Regions from separate parts of the Homo sapiens genome. Here all the other regions are linked to region 2. The links are contacts of gene promoters, found by promoter capture Hi-C in human tissues and cell types (Jung and others, 2019). All regions are on one chromosome and are shown on one strand. The core of a region is centred on a gene start or on the middle of the fragment in contact, and the rest is flanking DNA. Distances in the headings are between cores, read along the strand shown.

Region 1 (3,366 bases), core at 796-3,295, 330 kb after region 2:
CAGTTTTCAGTTACAATCTTGGGAAAGATCAGGAGCTTTGGAAAACGCGTGGTAAACATGTCTGTTTCTCCTTCTACCTCCACTCAACCTGAGCTGCACCCGGACACTTTAAAGGAGGCATGTGTCCAGAGGCTGCATCCAGGGATGCCCAGAGGGAGCCTGCCCTGCTAGGCCTCCTCTCAGAGGGCGCATCCCAGGCAGAGGAGACTGGCCTGGGTGATCGTTACCTCCACGGCCCAGTAGAGTGTGGAAAAACATGAGGTGCCCACAGACAATGGCTGCCAGCGAGTAAAGGGAAAGAAACCCTGAGGTACCATGATTCTTTTCTCTTACTTCCTCAAATGCTACTGATCTCTCCCCAAGTACAGGCTCAACAGAAAAATACAGTGGTTTGAGGACCCCAAGAAGTCAGCACACAGGCCAGGGGCCAGCTCCAGGCTGGGTCTGTCTCTCCCACCTTGGGAAACCCAGCGCTAAAACAATTTTTTTTTTTTTTTTTTGAGACGGAGCCTCGCTCTGTCACCCAGGCTGGAGTGCAGTGGTGTGATCTCGGCTCACTGCAACCTCTGCCTCCCGGGTTCAAGCTATTCTCCTGCCTCAGCCTCTTGAGTAGCTGGGATTACAGGCGTGTCCCACCCGGCTAATTTTTGTATTTTTTGTAGAGACGGGGTTTCACCATGTTGGCTAGGCTGGTCTCGAACTCCTGACCTCGTGACCGCCTTGGCCTCTCAAAGTCTGGGATTACAGGCGTGAGCCACCGAGCCCAGCCCCTCCTTAAAACAGTTTCTAATCAGATCCGTTATTTTACCCAAATGGGTTGAGGGAACAAAAACCAACCCTCATCACCCTATTTGGTGAAAATAAATATAAAAAAAGATGATCCTCTCTTAAAGGGTCACTTTCCTTCAGGGGTTTGTAAGGCTCAGCACTTTAAAAAGCTTGAACAGAAGTCCGGTATTGCCACTGTGGACTGTTTTTGAGGCAAGTTCCCTAATGTGGACAGCCCCACACCTAAGAGCAGCAGATCTAACTTGGAACGTCTCAACCATGGGTTAAAATCAGATGGGATGAAAGAACACCTGCAGTGACTCTCAACAGCTACGGAAGTCTCACATTGCAGGGCTGACTGATGAGGTGCTGGCTTCTTATTCTCCGGCCCTCTTTCCTAAGCAATGTTTGTCAGGGAATACCAGGTCCGCTTCCTGAAATGCCAGGGCCCCTCTAGGACCTTATCATTCCACAGCCACATCAGTAATAGGAAAACCACCAATGGCTACCTGGAGGTGGCACCAACTTGGAAAGGGAAGGCTGGGCAGGGGTTTGGACACTAAGCCCATGAGCTGTTTGGACAACTTCAATCTCTGGAATTGAGTTTAAATTTCTGTAAACAACTTTAAAGTCAACTCTAGAGAGACATTTTGTGTGACTGGTCCAAATAAAACAGCACATTTAATGAGGTCATATTCTTCTTAAACTTTTTAAGAGAAGCAAAAACAATGGAAAAGCCATTAAAATTTACACAAAGACCATTAAAACTCTACTAGTGTCAATTAAAACAAAGCCAATAAAACATGAACAACTTCAAAGTTACCATCACTTTCCACACTGTTCTACAGTTATAGGAATATATTCAAGCACCATATTGATAATAGGTAGGTAAACGATGAAGTCCTACTTTGGCGGTCTGACCCACGCTCACACAAACGAGGAGCTTCCTAGTCAAGATGCCCCCAGTCCTTGGCAATGTGCCTGCTTCCTGGGCATTGCTCAGTGGCAATGGAAGAGCCAATAAATCAAATCGCTGGTGGAATATTTTACTTTGAAATGGAGTGATGTTTGGTTAATAATTTGAGATCCACTAATCCTAAATGGGGTGACCCATTTAAAATGGCCTCTGTGTAAATTCACAGTTCATTAAATAGAGTCTGGTTTGAACAGGTCATTATGTAGTTAGTATATAAGTAATGGATTGAGCAAGGATGGCTGGGGATACCCATGGGGACACACTGGCTGAGTCTGGTGGCTTTCATAACACTGTCAAGCTTTCTTTTAATGTGAGATTCATTTAAATCACCAACTTAAATTTAGGTGGTTTTGCTTAGTAACCTCTTTTGGTTTACAGTAGAAAATGCAGTGCAAAAATTTTAAATGAGGAATATTCCATTTACAATTAATTTAAAACTTATGAAGCTGTTTTAACTGGCCCATCTAAATGTGTTAATTAACATCAATGATGGTTTCTTATTTTTCACACTTTGTTACTCTGATCATTAACAGTGATGGAAAAGCTAAATTAAGTTAATGGGGAACGGATTATAAATTCTTAAAGGACTTCTTAGTTTGTTTTCAACTGGAAAATATATAGAGAAAGATGAAGGGGCATTTTTGCCTCTACTCATCAATTTTTGGTACCAAATTTCTTAAAAACCAGATGGTTTAAAGAAAATTTTTCCAAAAATTATGTTAACATTCTGCTCAGACATGGCTGCTAAAAAAATAGCATATACACATATAATACTGAACAGCTTCTGCAGTGCCTGTAAACTCTCAGCTCATTTTCTCTTTCTAAAAAAAATATATATTATAACTGATCCCAGAACTCAATCTCTATTGTGCAGCAGTATCAAAGGTCCTTAAATTCTCAACAATGAAGGAAAAACAAAAACCCATTCCCCGGACCGCTTGAGCAGGACTAGGGAAGGAGGAGTCCGTGGATGCAAAGGTTCGCTGCCCCGACGCCCTCAGATTCCTCGAGGCTGCACCTCTGCGGGCAGCTGGCGGGGCGCAGGCCAAGCCCCTCACACCCGGGAGATCCACACGCGCGGCACACACGAAAACCCAATGCCACTTATCGAGACTTCACGCCAACGAGGACAACAATGAGCACAATGATGATGACAAATAATATTAAAATCACAAGCATCTTCCGATTCTTCTTTTGATACTGTTCTGCCTACAAAAAGAGGAGGGAAAAAAGGCCGTCATTTTCCCCAAAATCCCAAATCAAGTCCCACTCGTTTCCAGAATGAGGCTTCCAGATCTCTCTGCACAGTGACTGAGGTCTCTGCTACAGGCTACATGATTGTAATCCCTCCAATCAATCCCACGGAATTCAATCACCAGGAGTGGAAGAGCCCCATGATCCTGGTGCTGCTTATTTACCCTGGACGTGGAAATGGATTTGTTGGAAACCTACTACTAAGACAAAGCCTGACAGGGAAGTGAAAGCTCATGCTTCCGGGTGCAGCTGGGCCTGCTTCTCCCGGCTTTTCCTCCTGCAGGCCGTGGCAAGTGCCCCTGCAGCACGGGTCGCCTGTTCCCGGTCCGTGTTCCTGGAGCGAATGCACAGTTCCTTCACCGCGGAAG
Region 2 (3,315 bases), core at 813-3,312:
ACTCCCCAGATAAATTAAGCTTTGTGCCAGCATTTGGGAGCAGGACTGTGAATGTTTATTCCCCTTCCTGACCATCTCACCCCTCCTCCTGACCCCTGTTTGTGAGTTTGATTTGCCAGAGGCTCTGGGCTGAAAGCGGGTGATGTACAGGACTTGTGATGGAGCAGGTGTGGTTGCTGTCATCAGACCCAGCTACATAATTTGCAGGGCCCAGGGCACAGTGAACCTGGAGAGCCCCTCGTTCAGCTCTGCATTACACTTCTGGACTTAGGGCCTCATGTGACTGCAGGGGTCGTGTGCCTGCCTTGCTGACCATGCCTGTCATACCTTCTACATGCGCTGGACCTGCTCGGAGAGTCTCGGGGCATCTTCAGAGCACCCCAGCTCTCCCCATGCTACAGGAAAGAAAAGCTTACACCTTGGGTGCCTTTTCACCCAGATTCAGGGACCAGGGCCCAGGACATCACAGCTCAGGCATCAGAGGCCAAGCACAAGGGGCCCTCCCCTCTCCAGGCTTGTTTCTCATGCTGTAGAATGTGCTGTTGGACTTCACAGTACCTGGATCATAACTATGGGTACCTGGAGGGAGGGGCACGATATCTCTTACCACACAATTTTGTGAGTTCTTAGCTTTTTCTTTAGAAGAAGCCAAAAACCGGCCGCTTTGGTAGATGCCACCTGATGACCTGGCAAGGGCAGCTGTGTCTGGGTTTCTTCCTCACAAGGACCCAGCTCCTATAGTCAGGGAGGCCAGAGGGTTGACATGGGAGGAAGAAAGGCCCCCTCTTGGCAATTCTCTTTCCACTCCTTTTATGCCCAGAGGTTGGGAGGCCTCGCTCCCACCCCCACCGCCAGCTCAAGCTTGGGGACTTCTCCCAGGATGGCCACCCCACCCCGCCTTCTGATGACTGATGGACACTAATGGTTTCCATGAGCGACTTGCCAAACAAATAAGAGACACATCAGTAGGTAGAGCCCCGGGGCCACACTTTGCCTCAGTGACCACTTTTTGGGGAACAAGGACTGAAACTTCTGGGCTGACGAAGCAGCTCTCCAGCCTTGCTCTCCACTCGGACAGTCATGCGGGGATTCCATGGCCACCTCAGCGCTTCCGGGAATGGTCATGGAAGCTTCTGGAAGTCAGGAGGCAGCCACTGTGACTTCCCCTTGCCCACGTGGCACGCTTGGAATGTGGTGAGTGCCACTGAGTATGGAGAGAGTCAGGCAAGCTCATCTGTGGGCCCTGTGCCAAGGGCCCCCAGCAGGGGCCTGTCAGGTCGCAGCCCAGAATGCCGGGCCCTGTTCTTACCAGAGAAGAAGGCCATGGTGTGGGCCCAAGGGCCATGACAAACAGAGGGGCCGCAGGGAGCGAGAAGCCCTCCCCCAGTTACAAAACCACGTCCTGGGGGGCCACTTCTGCTTTTGGTTCCTCATTTGACTAAGAAGAGTTTCGTTAGCAGAAAACCTTTTCAAGGCGTCTTTGGAAGTCACATTGGATAACTCCTGATGCCTGCGCCAAGTGGAATCTTCCTTTGGGGCATTTTCTAGAAGGATCCCTCCTTCCTTCTCTGCAAAAGGGAACCGTCCCCCCGAAAGGGCCTGGGCCTTTGGGAAAAGGGGTTTAGAAAGCCAGGCGCGGGGACCCTTCTTTGGGGGCGGTGGCCGCATCCCAGGATCCCTTCCTAGGGGAGGCCTGGGCCCAGATGTGAGGCTGGGGGCCTCTCCCCAGGGCTCAGGGCCCCAGGAATGCAGGGCCAAGGGGGCCCATGAGCCTGCGGCCCCCCACCCCGAAGCCAGGAACCCCGGCAAATGAGTCCAGCCGGACAGTCCCGCGCTCAGGGCGGCGGCCGGCGGCGGGGTCAGGCTGGGGTCTGCCCGGCGACCTCGCGCCTGGCCCGCGAGTTCAGGTGCCCCGGAGCCAGGGAGGGAGCGGGGCGCGGAGCCGGGCGGGGAGGGCAGGGGTCACCGGGCGGGGCAGGAGCAGCGATGGGACAGCCCCGCCCCGGGGGAGTGTCCCGGCCTGGCCGCCGCAGCCTTAAGGGCCGGGCGGGGCAGGGGCCCAAAGTGCGGGGTCGGCCGGGTGCTGGGCCGAGGCCGAGGCCGGGGCGGGATCCAGAGCGGGAGCCGGCGCGGGATCTGGGACTCGGAGCGGGATCCGGAGCGGGACCCAGGAGCCGGCGCGGGGCCATGGCGAGGCGCGGGCCAGGGTGGCGGCCGCTTCTGCTGCTCGTGCTGCTGGCGGGCGCGGCGCAGGGCGGCCTCTACTTCCGCCGGGGACAGACCTGCTACCGGCCTCTGCGGGGGGACGGGCTGGCTCCGCTGGGGCGCAGGTGGGCACCGGCGGGGAGGCAGCCCTGGGGGGACGGGAGGCCCATCGCCCGGGCCAGGCGCGCGCTCTGCCTCCTGGGGGCCCTGCGTCGCCAACAGGCCTTGGAAGGTCAGATCCAGCCGCTTCGTTTTGGGGGTCGCTCCTTCTCTTCCACATCCAGGGTGAGCCCTGATGTTTGTGGGGTTGGACAAGCCCCACCTGGCCAGAAAGCCAGGCCAGCCCCACCTCCTCGGCCTCTGGGGGTGGCCCTTACGGCGCGGCATGGCTGGGGGAGCAACCCGGTTCCCTCCTTTCGGGGGTGCCCTGCCTCCTTCACATTCTGAGAGCGCTGGAGCCTCCTAGTGTGAGGTGGGCCCACACCTGGCTCACCTCTGGTGATTGTGGCCCCACTCCCATGCCCTCAGGTGTTGGGAAAGGCGGGAGGGCCCTACCGAGGGCTTCCTGGGCCCACGGCCCCCGGGAGCCCCAGCACCGATCTGGGTGGGGATGATCTCTTCTCAGCACATACCCCCGGCCTCATGAGTACCTGTCCCCAGCGGATCTGCCCAAGAGCTGGGACTGGCGCAATGTGGATGGTGTCAACTATGCCAGCATCACCCGGAACCAGCACATCCCCCAATACTGCGGCTCCTGCTGGGCCCACGCCAGCACCAGCGCTATGGCGGGTGAGTGGCCGCCCTTTGACTGTGGGCCAGGAAAGCCCATCCCGGCTGCCTGTTTATAGGCCCAGGCAGCTCAGCCCGCGGTTCCAGGGGCCTGTGATTCAAGGCCAGGTCAGCCTGGGCTGGGGTGCTAAGGCCGAGGAGCGCGGGCCTTTGCCCTCTGCTGAGGTGACCCAAGCTGGGTCATTCTGGGGCTTTTGGGTGACAGGCAGGACTAGGACTGAATCCCAGTGACAAGTGGCTGCCAGGTGCCCTCTCTCCCCCAAAGCTTGTGACCTCAGCCATTGGGATAGAAACAGAAATGCAAAATCACTGAGTCCCCAG
Region 3 (3,004 bases), core at 273-2,772, 400 kb before region 2:
GTCTTGCTGAACCTATATGTTTATGACTAAAATCAGTCCTCCAAAAATGTGGCCAATAGAACTTTCAATCTTATTATAGGAGGCATGATAGAAGTGCTCCTGAATTCAAGGACAAGAAATTTTTTCCATCCAGAGTCCCACACGCCAAAAAAAGCAAATGAATCCTGTGTGTGGAGAGAGGTTCCATGAATCAGAGTCATTCATTTCTAAAGTAAAGGACATGTGAGATAAAACTCAACGTAATACACTCAGTGAATAAAAGTATTACTGTACGTGGTGGTCAAAGAGGGATGGAGAGAGCAGAGCTAGGAAGGAAAGAGCAAGGTACAGAAACAGGCCTAGGGAAATGGAAAAGGGAAAAAGAAAAAAAGAAAAGAAACAAGTAAGCAAAAGCTAAACTCCTTGACATTATCTCCCTAACTTGAGTGTAGAAAGTAGGGGTTTACTGAAGACACAGCCAGGTCCTGCCACTCTTTGTAACCTCAGGCTGCAGCATAGCCCCCAGAACATAGGAGACACTCAATAATTGCTTAAACAGTTGGACAAGAGGCAGAAAGAATATGAACTTTACGGAAGTCATCCCTCATTTTATGACTGAGATAAACCCAACGTAGCTCAATTTGCCTCTCCTCTTTTTACCCTTCTTTTATTGTTTTTCCTTCTTTCGTTATTTTCTTCTCTTCTTGAGGAGAAGATACAAAATACATTTTCACTCCTTGGATTGCAGCAAGCAGAGAAGCCACACCTCGCAAGAAACCTTACATCCAGGAATAAGGCTCTGGGATCTGGATGCACCTGCCTAAGTTTATGCAACTCTGCACCCAGGTTTACCCGTTTCTGATGAAACTCAATGGAGGTATGTCCAGCTAGAGGCTTGCTAGTGCTCTAGGAAACCGTTTCTCCAGCTGTCTCTGTCCACAGATGACTTGGGAGTCAGAAGGAAGGCTTGGCCTGCTCACGTGACTGTGAGGAAGACACCCCCTGTGGGTTTACACTGAGGCTCAGAAAGGACAACTTTTGCACTGGCAACCTGGCAGTGCCCTCTTTCAGTAAGCCCCCGTTTCCTAGCTGAGAAGTGAAAGGTTTGGATTGGGGATTCAGACTCTTTCCTCTATGGGCCTAGAGCTTGGCTGTTGTCACACAGGGAGAGCGGGAGCCAAGACTCAAGCTTAGTACTCCTGCTTCCTCAGCAGGGCTTCTTTCGCAACTTTGGGAAATTCTTGTTTGTGAGGATCAACACTTGCCTTGCTCTGGATGGCTTTCCAGCTCCCAAGTGTGGACTTCTCAAAGATTCTTAGAAACCCTGGAGCCCCCATCATCACCCAGAACCTCCAAAGCCATCTTGAGACTTCGGTGGCTACACATCCACTGCTCCTCCATTGGTCCACTGTGAAATTGGGACAAAAGATATCTTATTTTTTAGGATTCACATGGATTCATGATGGAGAGCAGGAACAAGTGCCTCATGTTTAGACTAAAGTGTGAATGGCTGATATAATTCTATTTCCAGCACATAAACATTGCAGGTGAGGTTCCACAATGAGGGCACATCCACAATGGATGGTTTCATGGCAAGGACGTCAGTGTTCCCCAAAATTTGACTTCTATTTCCATTTCATCTAATGTAATCCAGTCTCCTCTTGGGGAAGTTCAGTTCAACATGGGTTCTAAACATTTCTCATTTGCAAATTATCACGGAGCTGAAACTTCTAAAAATAAACATGGTAAGATTTATGGCAAATTGAAAAAGTCTCCTCCTTGAAAGTGATTCTCAAGTGAAACTGAGTGAGAACAACTGTTTCGGGCCATCCAGGAAACAACGGAGTCTGCAGCTGTTTCACATCCACGCTTCTTCCTTGGGAACTCTGTAGACTGGTAATTTGGGAATTAGGCATTTTGTTTCAATGACTATTGCAGAATACTTTTCAGACTATTGTTTTGAATATCATGAGATGGGCTGTTTAAATATTTTATTTCAAAGTTGGAGTCAAGAGTCCAGAGTGTGGATCCAGCTCCTCTCCCTCAGATGCTCATAAGGAGTTTGAATAGCTTTAAGTCAACGTGCAAGAATGCTGAGAACACAACAGCAATGCCCACAAGGAGACGGCTTTTCAGGGTTCATCCCCACCCTCACAGGAGCACGGAGAGGGGCTCTGAAGCAAGAAGTCTTTGAGAGCTGACACCACTAAGTAGAGAAAATGGACAGAAGCTGACTCGGCAAACCTTCGCCACCTGGTCAACTGTACATGGATAGATCAAATTATGCATTCACTCACTTGACAAATATTTATTAAGTACTCCAATCCCTTACCTTCTCTTTGCATCCAGCACAAGCCAGCTCTGGCCGCTTCCCTGACCACTGCGCACCTGCCCCAGGGCCCTTCCTGCCATTCCTCAAACGGGCAGAGCTCATTCTCCCCTGACCCCGGGCCTCAACCTGCTATTCACTCTGCCTAGAATACCCTTCCTGCTGTTCTGCACTCAGCCAGCTCCTTCTTCTTATCCCCGCCCCCCGCCCCTTGTGTAAAGGAGCCCTCTCCAATTACTGTCTATCCTATTTTGCTTCATTCACAGCCTTTGTCTTCTGAAATTGTCTTGTTTACTTATTAATACATGGTTTTTGTCCTCTCTCCACCAGAATGTCAGTTCCCTGAGAGAAGAGGGACCTATCTTGTTCAGGCTGTGTCCCTAGCGGCCAGCACGGCTCCCGAAATATAACAGGTCCTCAATAAACATCTGTTGAAGAAACGATGTTCTCTTTAGCCTATCTCAGCCGGCGGGTTGAGAGGGAGAAGTAAGTAGGACACCGGGAAGGGCTTTAAAGCAGCACAAATACTCCCTGTGAGACCGGACTGGGATAAAGACAGGTTTTGAGCACTGACCTCACCGGGATGGTGGATGGGCAGGTGAGGACGACGGTGGCTTTGCCTCATCTCCCAGCTGTGACTGAGAGGCCCCCGTGGACCTGGCCCAGTGTGGCTCCATTAGTGGCCTCCCCAGGATC

What was found. Contacts are between HindIII fragments. The study calls those that stand out against the background at their distance.
Region 1: a fragment that was not itself captured here is called in contact with the fragment with the promoter of CTSZ in region 2 in 1 of the 25 tissues and cell types used here (spleen).
Region 3: a contact is called between a fragment that was not itself captured here and the fragment with the promoter of CTSZ in region 2, in 2 of the 25 tissues and cell types used here (H1 embryonic stem cells and dorsolateral prefrontal cortex).

Annotation. Positions count from the first base shown.
Region 1 is chr20:58,675,774-58,679,139 of GRCh38, reverse strand. It overlaps STX16 (syntaxin 16), which reads right to left. Exons shown (of 9, transcript NM_001001433.3): 9 at 1-2,953. The coding sequence ends at 2,849. All of the region lies in intron 8 of STX16-NPEPL1 (STX16-NPEPL1 readthrough (NMD candidate)), which reads right to left. Among named protein-coding and RNA genes, the nearest start is that of NPEPL1, 15 kb to the left of the region's middle. RefSeq lists enhancers at 2,263-2,787, 2,788-3,313. The HindIII fragment of the contact is 6,742 bases long and covers 1-3,366 here.
Region 2 is chr20:59,006,001-59,009,315 of GRCh38, reverse strand. It overlaps CTSZ (cathepsin Z), which reads left to right and starts at 2,062. Exons shown (of 6, transcript NM_001336.4): 1 at 2,062-2,330; 2 at 2,831-2,994. The coding sequence starts at 2,188. RefSeq lists enhancers at 809-888, 1,029-1,138, 1,159-1,318, 1,999-2,810 and a silencer at 1,779-2,378. The HindIII fragment of the contact is 3,977 bases long and covers 637-3,315 here.
Region 3 is chr20:59,404,837-59,407,840 of GRCh38, reverse strand. No RefSeq gene overlaps it. Among named protein-coding and RNA genes, the nearest start is that of EDN3, 110 kb to the right of the region's middle. RefSeq lists an enhancer at 2,906-3,004. The HindIII fragment of the contact is 6,284 bases long and covers 1-3,004 here.